Regions from separate parts of the Homo sapiens genome. Here region 2 is linked to region 1. The links are contacts of gene promoters, found by promoter capture Hi-C in blood cells and fetal thymus (Javierre and others, 2016). All regions are on one chromosome and are shown on one strand. The core of a region is centred on a gene start or on the middle of the fragment in contact, and the rest is flanking DNA. Distances in the headings are between cores, read along the strand shown. Region 1 holds the start of ECM1 (extracellular matrix protein 1). Region 2 has its middle 10 kb from the start of ENSA.

Evidence for each region. The method cuts DNA at HindIII sites, captures the fragments that hold promoters and counts their contacts. A CHiCAGO score of 5 or more calls a contact.
Region 2: a contact is called between a fragment that was not itself captured here and the fragment with the promoter of ECM1 in region 1, in 1 of 17 cell types (neutrophils). The highest score is 7.5, in neutrophils.

Annotation. Positions count from the first base shown.
Region 1 is chr1:150,504,304-150,509,424 of GRCh38, reverse strand. It overlaps ECM1 (extracellular matrix protein 1), which reads right to left and starts at 1,316. Exons shown (of 10, transcript NM_004425.4): 1 at 1,146-1,316. The coding sequence starts at 1,215. It overlaps TARS2 (threonyl-tRNA synthetase 2, mitochondrial), which reads right to left. Exons shown (of 18, transcript NM_025150.5): 14 at 4,990-5,090; 15 at 4,692-4,793; 16 at 4,447-4,519; 17 at 3,720-3,834; 18 at 1,823-2,509. The coding sequence ends at 2,361. The HindIII fragment of the contact is 8,833 bases long and covers 1,296-5,121 here.
Region 2 is chr1:150,637,064-150,642,184 of GRCh38, reverse strand. No RefSeq gene overlaps it. Among named protein-coding and RNA genes, the nearest start is that of ENSA, 10 kb to the right of the region's middle. RefSeq lists enhancers at 453-1,068, 3,533-4,149. The HindIII fragment of the contact is 4,327 bases long and covers 96-4,422 here.

The DNA of each region.
Region 1 (5,121 bases), core at 67-2,566:
ACACGAGATGCCCCTCTGTATTCACCTGCCCCGTGTCCCCTAATCCTCTCCCAGCCCCAACACACCTAGACATGACCAGCTGGGTTCTGAGAAAGCCTGTGGCGGTCTGATAGCTCCACCTCTACTGGCTCAGAGGTTGGGCCTAAAGGGAGTATGGCATACGGGATTGGGGAGGGAGGCCCTCATTTCCTCTGCCAGTCTTTCCCTCAGGGCTGTGGGTTGTCCTCCCCAGTCTCTGCTGGGATGCGTCTCTAGCTTTCAGAGGAAAAAGTCTGGACCTTGAGCTGGTTGGAGCCTACCCAATCCACCTCCTCCACCCACCCTCCTACTCCAGGCCCTTGAAACATCTTTAGGCCTTTGGTTAAGGAGGCTTCCTGAAGGTTGAGTGCTTCCCCTTCAGCCAGTCTCAGCTCCGCCTTAGTTTAGGTCTCAATTTAGGGCCTGGGGGACTGGGACAGGCACAGGGAAGGGTCACTTGTAGGTGATCTGCAGACACAAAAGACCAGGAGCTGGGAAGAATGATGGCATGGGGCTTCACAGAGAAGTGGACAGATTTGCTGACATCCTCAGCAGCTTCCTGCAGGAGTGCCCTGGGTGGTTTTTTTCCTTTTCTTTTCCTTTTTTTCTTAGTTTCCACCCATAGCATTGAGGGGTTCCTGTTTTGTTCAGGCATCAAAGCAGATAAAGAATGTGTTTGTGCTGGATGGAGGGTGGGTCTGTGGATGGACACCCCTCAACTCCTCTAATCAGACAGGGAGTCAGTCGAGGCTTGCTGGGCCAGCAATCCGGTTTTGAGCAGCCTGGGGGCCCCTTTTCCCTCCCTTGCCTCTCCCACCAGCCACCTCCCTACATCCTCATCAGCAGGAGACCCTCACTCTGTGAACCCACCCCCCACTCAGTTGTCTATTTGACTGGGATTCTGTGTTTCTTGGCAGCAGTTTCTAGGAACCCCTCTCCTTCTGTGCCCCTGCTCTCTGCCTCCTTGGTTAAAGGCTCCACTGGCCTAGGCCCACTTTGGGCCTGCTCAGAAAAGGAAAGCCAAACGGAGAATCACTCTGCTAGTGATGAGCCGTCTGGGATGCCTGGACCCAGACCCCTGCCATGCAAGCCCAGACCCCCTCCTAAGTGCTGATCCCCCAACTCACCTCCCTCAGAGGCAGCAGAAGCAACAGCCAAATAGGTCAAGACCAAGGCTGCTCTGGCTGTGGTCCCCATCCTGGGGCAACTGACCACTGGACACTCAGAGGTGGGTCCTCTCAGGCAAGTCTGGATGTGAAGGGCCGGCCACTGAAGCTTGTCTGGTGGCTGTTACGGTTGTGAGCTTCAGGACCAGCTCTTCTTTTATAATTGTCTGGTGTGATCTCCCGCCCTCCTCAGCTTCCTGCCATGACTCAGTCCCAGCTGCTCCTCCTCTGGAAGCCACTCCTCCCAAAGTCACCCTGAAGCCTCCTCAGAGGATTGAGAAGAATGGGACTGATTAGAGGAGAACATTCTTATGACCTTCAAGAGAAACTGATTCAGAGAATCCAGGAGCAAGAGGTGTTTGAGCCCCTAGTTTGTGCCTCAGTTTCTCCATCTACAGGCTGCCTTCTGTGGAGAGGGGATCTGCCAACTCATGAACTGGGGTTGGGGAAACAGGGCACAAAGGAGTTTACAGCGGGGAGCAGGAAACCTATCCAAGGGATCTCCCCTACCAGTGTGAGGTCTGGACTGTCCCTTTTCAATTTCCCTAACTCTCTGGGACAAAAAAGAGGGAGACAAAGTGGAACATCCTTTTATCCCACCTCTCCAGAGTCAGAGATGAAGACATATGACCAGCAGCTTCCAGTTTGTATTTATTTATTTATTTATTTATTTAGAGACAGAGTCTCGCTCTGTCGCCTAGGGGGGTGCAGTGGCGCAATCTCAGCTCACTGCAACCTCTACCTCCCGGGTTCAAGCGATTCTCCTGCCTCAGCCTCCTGAGTAGCTGGGATTACAGGCGTGTGCCACCATGCCCGGCTAATTTTTTGTATTTTTAGTAGAGACAGGGTTTCACCGTGTTAGCCAGGGTGGTCTTGATCTCCTGACCTCATGATCCGTCCGCCTCAGCCTCCCAGAGTGCTGGGATTACAGGCATGAGCCACTGCGCCTGGCCCAATTTATTTTTTTTTGTAGTTTCATTCTCCTCACATCCAAACAGCTACAGCTTCCCTCCTTTTGTGGGGTCCCCAAACCAAGTCTCTTTTCAGGAGAGCAGACATGTGCCTCCACACAGTTCTGAAGTTCTGGGGGCTCCACATTGTCAGCTGGGTTGGGGTCTCCCATGTGAGGGAGGCTGATGGCACTCGCAGGTTTTTGCCTCATCTATGTACAAAGGCTCAGAAAATTTCTTCGGCATTTGGGACCCTCGTGTTCTGTAGCTCCACCAGTCGCTGCACAGCCTCAGGCAAGTCCCACTCCCCAAGGCGACGATTATCTCGAGTCCGAATGTTCACTGTTCTCTTACTTTGCTCTTTCTGGCCAACCACTGCAGGTAGAGGAAGTTTGGGAACCTCAGGGCAAATTCACCCACATGGAACAGTTTCTTTTGCTCTGCAGAAACTTGAGAGACCTAAATCTTTAGGAAGGGTGGGAGCAGAGCCCAGATATGGTTCACAGAAAGGAAGTATTCAGCTGTGTCTGCTAATACTAAATGACCAGTCCTGCTCATCCTGAGGAGACAAGGAAGTGCTTCAGTCCCCGCAGGCCTTATCGCTTCTGGTCAAGAGCCCCAGGGTCAGAGACATAAGAGTCAAGCAGAGAAAGACAAACACTGAGAACCCCACAGAGAGAAACTGTGTGTGTGTGTGTGTGTGTGTGTGTGTGTGTCAGAGACATTAGAGTCAAGCAGAGAAAGACAAACAATGAGAACCCCACAGAGAGAAACTGTGTGTGTGTGTGTGTGTGTGTGTGTGTGCGCGCGCGTGTCTGAAGGGGGTATTAGAGCAAGTGGAAGGTGGCAGGAGTGGTGTGGCCTTCACACTGCCCCGCCTCCCCCCAACCACTCTGACCCTTAGAACAGTTTCCTCTCATCAGTCCCACTCTGGCTCTTGGTGTCTGTTAGGGCTGGATTCACAGAGTGAGGGGCCTCTGCTGAGGAGGATGTATGCAGGGGCTGACTGGGCGGTAAGGGAGGGAAAGGGGCCATGTACAAGTCCCTGGGATTGCAGCACAGCTTGCTCTGGGTGCTTGTAGGGAGAGTGGGGTGTGCAAAACTCAAGAATCAGGTAATCTGGCTGAGGAGTTTCTGCTCCTCACCTTTGAGATAGAGCCCTGAACCCTGGAAAATGAAAAAGGGAGCATGGCAGTGCCAGAATTTTCTCCCTAAGGCCTTTCTCCTCATCCCTTAGGGCTGATTCCATCTAGGTCTAAAATAAACAAGGGTAATTAACGCTGTATTAACCCTCCCGTCCCTTTCTCTCTGATGCTCCCTTGGTTAATTAACCTAACAGACACCAACAGCTAGAGTGGAGTTAAAAAGAGGAAAACTATTTTGAGTGTCAGAAGTGGTTATGGGGAGGGCAGGGCAATGTGAAGGAACACAGGGCCCAAATGAGTCAGGTGTCCTGAATCCTGGCTCCTACCTGCTCAGGTAATGAGCCCCAATTAACCCAAATATGCATTACCAGACTTGGTAAACTTAACAGCAAGAATGCAGACGGCAGGTGGGAGAACATTGGCTCTGAGGTTCAGCTTACCAAACTGAAAATTGTAGTGGGCAAGCTGGGCCCGGCGGATTCTCCGGCTGAGGGTCAGTCCAGAGTCTGCATCCAGGTCACTGACCAGTCCTGCAGCCCGCAGGCTCTGCTGTGCCTGCAACAGAGGTTTGGTGACAGGAAGTTAATTTACTGGAAAGTTAAGGAGCTAGAACAGTCTGATGCTCTTTTCCCTCAATGCCCCCATCTGTTCCTCCTTTCCCTGCCTCGGGGCTCTCCACTTCTTACCAGCAACCTCTCCTCATTTCATCTCCACATTGAGGCCTCCTCCCCATTCATCCCCAACCCCACAATCTTTCTGCCTCCTACTGGAGATGACCCCCCAGTTATTCCGTGGACTTTGCCTTCTAGCCACTGCTCTACCCAACCAGCTGTTTGACTCTGGTACCATCCATATCCTCAATTCTCTCTAGAAAGGAAAAATAAAACTGTGTACTCAATCCCAGTTTTGTGCCAAGTGCTCTTTTGGTGGCTTTCAACATTTGTTAATTTGTTTAATTTTCATACATCTCTACAAGGTAGGCATTAGTCACATTTTTTAGATACAGGATTTCCAGCATCTAGGACAGCAGCCACTCGAGCCCAGTCTTGTGGCTGTGAGGGCTGTGCTCCTTCCTCTACCACCCCTGCAGCCTCTTCCTGCCCACTGCAGGGCACCAGACTCTCTACTGGACCTGCTTCTGCCCCCTCCCTTACCTCAACTCCTTACCTCTTTGGCGTATTCCTCTTGCTCACTCCCCACAGGGATGACCACCACCTGGAACGGGGACAGCCACAGTGGCCTGGTAGGGAAAGAACAGGTGATGGCAAATTAGTCACTCTGGCTCTGGCCAGAAGTGTGCTTGTATGGAGCAGACTTGAGAAGGAAAGAGGCTGGCATATGAAGGGGGACAGGATCTGGAGCATAACTATCCGGTTTGGGGCCAGAACAGAAATCCAGGTCAGAGGTCTCACCATTTCCCCCCGCAGCTTTCTGCCAGCACTCCCAACAGTCTTTCCACAGAACCGAGCACTGCTCGGTGAATGAGGACTGGACGCTCCAGGGCACCCGCCTGCCTTGAAAGGAAAAAGGGGGGGGTGGATGGAATGGTGGAAGTATCACGAATTGTGTACCCAAGATCACCTTCCAGTTTTTAAGAAATATTCAGCTCTGGCAGGAGAGGGTGTGGAGGGTTTAGTTTTTAGGGCCAAAGGCAGAAGGACTTATTCCATGCACTGTCAAGGGAAAAGAGGATAGGGCAAGGTTTTATACCCCTTATACTGGAGGTCAAATCTCAGGGGCAGTTGGAAGTCAAGCTGAATTGTCCCACACTGATGTGGCCGGCCCAGGGCATCGTGGAGGTGCACGTCAATCTACAGGAAACAGATGGGAAGGCACGAGATA
Region 2 (5,121 bases), core at 1,010-3,509, 130 kb before region 1:
GAATATAAATAATCTGGCTACCGCTTTGTTTTTCTTAATCTAATTCAACCTCCCAAAGTATGATAGTAGATTTAACTGAATTTCCTTCAGAAGCTTACCTGGGAATCTAGGGCCTTCTACTCCTTCAGAAGGGCTTCTTGACTGAATCCATGTTTCTGCCACAAGAAAAAAATCAGTCCAATAAATGTACATCATTTTCCTGATTTAATGAGAAAAATTTTAATCCTAAGTTTTTCTTGTATTTCAGAGATACTGAAATGTTTCCTCCTTATCTGAAAGTGAGACTTCTTCAAAGATTTATGGATATTTAAACCCATAAAATACCTCAAAATATTTGTAGGTTAGCCTTAATAATAATAATAATAATTCTTTTCCCCCTCGTTGTATCACCTCACTTTCATGCTCGTGCGTGTGAAGAGACCACCAAACAGGCTTTGTGTGAGCAACATGGCTGTTTATTTCACCTGGGTGCAGGCGGGCTGAGTCCAAAAAGAGAGTCAGCGAAGGAAGATAAGGGTGCGGCTGTTTTATAGGATTTGGGTAGATAAAGGAAAATTACAGTCAAAGGGGTGTTGTTCTCTGGCGGACAGAGTGGGGGTCACAGGGTGCTCAGTAGGGGAGCTTTTTGAGACAGGATGAGCCAGGAAAAGGAATTTCACAAGACAATGTCATCAGTTAAGGCAGGAACAGGCCATTTTCACTTCTTTTGTGGTGGAATGTCATCAGTTAAGGCAGGAACCGGCCATCTGGATGTGTATGTGCAGGTCACAGGGGATATGATGGCTTAGCTTGGGCTCAGAGGCCTGACACACCTTTTCTTGAACCTCCAAGTAGAGGCCAAAAAAGTCTTGAATAAGTTAGATTAAACTGATTTATATTAATCCAAAGTAGATATTTTTTCTTTTGGGAAGTAGGGAAGAAATGGGTCGAATTGAGGAGGGGAAGGCTGGAGAAGGGTGAAGAAAACAGAATAGCCAAATGGATTCTCAGGAACATTATGAATATTTAAAAGGGTGAACATTCAGTCTGAGAAAGCTGATTGAAGAAAATACTGAACAAATTTTCTTTTTGTCTTTGAGACAGAGTCTCTCTCTGTCACCCAGGCTGGAGTGCAGTGACACCATCTTGGCTCACTGCAACATCCACCTCCCGGGTTCCAGTCATTCTCCTGCCATGTTGGCCAGGCTGGAGGCTTCAAGTGATCCACCCGCCTGGGCCTCCCAAAATACTGGGATTACAGGCGTGAGCCACACCGTCTGGCCAAAAAATACTCTTTAAATGCTCAAAAAGTAATAAAAGACTTTTTTTTTTTTTTTTTTTAAGATGGAGTCTCACTCAGTCGCCCAGGCTGGAGGGCAATGGCATGATCTCGACTCTGCAACCTCCGCCTCCCAGGTTCAAGTGATTCTCCTGCCTCAGCCTCCTGAGTAGCTGGGATTACAGGCCTGCCCCACCACACCCAGCTAATTTTTTTTTTTTCCCTGAGACGGAATTTTGCTCTTGTTGCCCAGGCAGGAGTGCAATGGCGTGATCTCGGGTCACCGCAACCTCCGCCTCCCGGGTTCAAGCAATTCTCCTGCCTCAGCCTCCCAAGTAGCTGGTTTCATGTGCGTCCGTGTGAAGAGGCCACCAAACAGGCTTTGTGTGAGCAACATGGGTATTTATTTCACCTGGGTGCCGAAAAGAGAGTCAGCGAAGGGAGATGGATTATCATTAATTCTTATAGGTTTTGGGATAGGCGGTGAAGTTGAGAGCAATGTTTTGCGGGCAGGGGTGGATCTCACAAAGTACATTCTCAAGGGTGGGGAGAATTACAAAGAACTTTCTTAAGGGTGGGGGAGATTACAAAGTACATTGATCAGTTAGGGTGGGACAGGAACAAATCAATGGTGGAATGTCATCAGTTAAGGCTATTTTTACTTCTTTTGTGGATCTTCAGTTACTTCAGGCCATCTGGGTGTATACGTGCAAGTCACAGGGGATGCGATGGCTTGGTTTGGGCTCAGAGGCCTGACAGCTGGGATTACAGGCATATGCCACCATGCCTGGCTAATTTTTTTTGTATTTTTAGTAGAGACGGGGTTTCTCCATGTTGGTAAGGCTGGTCTTGAACTCCTGACCTCAGGTGATCCGCCCACATCAGCCTCCCAAAGTGCTGGGATTACAGGCATGAGCCACTGCGCCCAGCCTAATTTTTTTTGTTTTTTGTTTGTTTGTTTTGTTTTTTGTTTTTTGTTTTTGAGACGGAGTCTCACTCTGTCACCCAGGCTGGAGTGCAGTGGCGCCATCTCAGCTCACTGCAAGCTCCGCCTCCTGGGTTCACGCCATTCTCCTGCCTCAGCCTCCCGAGTAGCTGGGACTACAGGCGCCCGCCACCATGCCCAGCTAATTTTTTGTATTTTTAGTAGAGATGGGATTTCACCATGTTACCCAGAATGGTCTCGATTACTAATTTTGTAATTTTAGGAGAGTTGAGGTTTCACCATGTTCGCCAGGCTGGCTTGATCCCAACCCGCCTCGGCCTCCCAAAGTGCTGGAATTACAGGCGTCAGCCACTGCACCCGGCCAAGTAATACTATTTTAAATGAGGTGGCTAGCTGGGAATGGTGGCTCACTCCCGTAATCCAAGCACTTTGGGAGGCCGAGGTGGGAGGACTGCTTGAGGCCAAGAGTTTAAGACCAGCCTGGGCAACATAGTGAGACTCTGTGTCTATTTTTAAAAAATGAATAGTGAACATATATAGCCAGCACCCAAATCAAGAAACAGATCGTTACCAGCACCCTAGAATCCCCCCTCATACCTTTTCCCAGTTGCTATTTTCTCCCTTAAAGGTAACCACAATCTTGACTTGAAATACCATAGATTGGTTTTGCTTTTGAGGTTTATACAAATGAAATTATGAAATATGTATGTTTTGTGACCATGAATTAACTATTTTACTTTTTTTGAAGATTTGATTGACCTAGTTTGGGGCAACTATAAATAGAACTACTATGAATATGTGTTTTGGTATAACATAAGAATGCATTTCTTTTTTAATTTTTTTTTTTTTTTGAGACGGAGTTTTGCTCTTATTGCCCAGGCTGGAGTGCCATGGCACGATCTCAGCTCACCACAACCTCCGCCTCCCAGGTTCCAGTGATTCTCCTGCCTCAGCCTCCCGGGTAGCTGGGATTAGAGGCATGCGCCACCACGCCCGGCTAATTTTGTATTTTTTAGTAGAGACAGGGTTTCTCCGTGTTGGTCGGGCTGGTCTCGAACTCCCGACCCCAGGTGATCCGCCCGCCTTGGCCTCCCAAAGTGCTGGGATTACAGATGTGAGCCACCATGCCCGGGCTCTTTTTTAATTTTTGTGGATACATAGTGGGTGTATATATTTATGGGTTACATGAGATGTTTGATATAGGCATGCAATGTGTAATAATTACATCAGAGTAAATACAGTATTCATCACCTCAAACATCTATCCTTTATGTTTCCAACAATCCAATTATACTCTTAGTTTGCTTGTTTGTTTGAGATGGAGTTTCACTCTTGTTGCTCAGGCTGGAGTGCAATGACGCAACCTTGGCTTACTGCAACCTCTGCCTCCCAGGTTCAAGCGATTCTCCACACTCAGCATCCCGAGTAGCTAGGATTACAGGCACCTGCCACCATGCCTGGCTAGTTTTTGTATTTTTAATAGAGACAGGGTTTCACCGTGTTTGTCAGGCTGGTCTCGAACTCCTGACCTTAGGCAATCCACCCATCTCGGCCTCCCAAAGTGTTGGGATTACAGGCATGAGCCACCGCACCTGGCCTCTCTTTTAGTTATTTTTTAATGAACAATTATTTTTTACTATAGTCACCCTGTTGTGATAGCAAATACTAGATCTTACTTTTCTTTCTATATTTTGTGTACCCATTAACCATCCCCTCTTTACCCGCATCGCAAAGAATGCATTTCAATCGGGTATATATACCTAGGAGAGGGATTGCAAGGTCATGGGTTTTGGATTATGTACAGCTTTAGTATATATTGCCACCAGCTTTCCAAAGTATGTTGTACCAATTTATACCCCAACCAGCCATACTGCAGGTCTTTGGAACTGTCAAGTCATATATTTATGAGCATATGATTGTGCTGAGCAGAAGTCTGGATAAATAAAAGCCACTGTTAATTCCTGTGACCTTGCTTTAATTTTATAGAAACTGAGCTGCATTGGTTGGTTTCAGGGGATCTATGTACATCCTAAAATACGTATAATATTGCATGTATGTATTTGTGCTTAAGCACATTTGGGGGACAGAAGAACCATAGTTTATACCAGATTCTCAAAGATCAGATTTGGAAAAACTGGTGGCAATATATACTAAAGTAAACATAATGCAATACTTTACGCACACCACCCCCACCCCAACAAAAAAAAAGTTAAAAAGCTTAATAATGACTGCTTTATGGGAGTCCAACAATCAAGAAGCTATTATTACTCAGGAATACTTTGCTTGTTATTAGCAAATACTGTTCCAGGTTGGTGGTGGTCTGTTGACACAGACACCCAGTCCAAACAGCCAGGTTTCCTGTGGTTAACAGAGAAGGATTAGAACTCTTGACTACTTAATTTTCCTTTTATTTCTAGTAGGTTAAAATCTTTTATTAAAATAGCTTCTGGTGTGGGGGGGAATAGCTTCATAATGCTTTTTATAATTATATATTTTCAATAACTATATTTTTAGAATAGATTCATTGCGATTATAATTCACATACCATACAGTATACCCATTTAAAGTGAATAGTGGTCAGGTGCAGTGGCTCACGCCTGTAATCCCAGCACTTTGGGAGGCCGAGGCGGGTGAATCGCCTAAGGTCAGGAGTTCAAGACCAGCCTGGCCCATATGGTGATACCCCATCTCTACTAAAAATACAAAAAGTAGCCGGACGTGGTGGCGGGCGCCTGTAATCCCAGCTACTCCGGAGGCTGAGGCAGGAGAATGGCTTGAACCTGGGAGGCAGAGGTTGCAGTGAGCTGAGATCGTGCCACTGCACTCCACCCGCCTCAGCCTCCTGAAGTGCTGGGATTACAGGCTTAAGGTACTGCGCCTGACCATTTATTTTTATTAACAAATAATATTCCAATGTA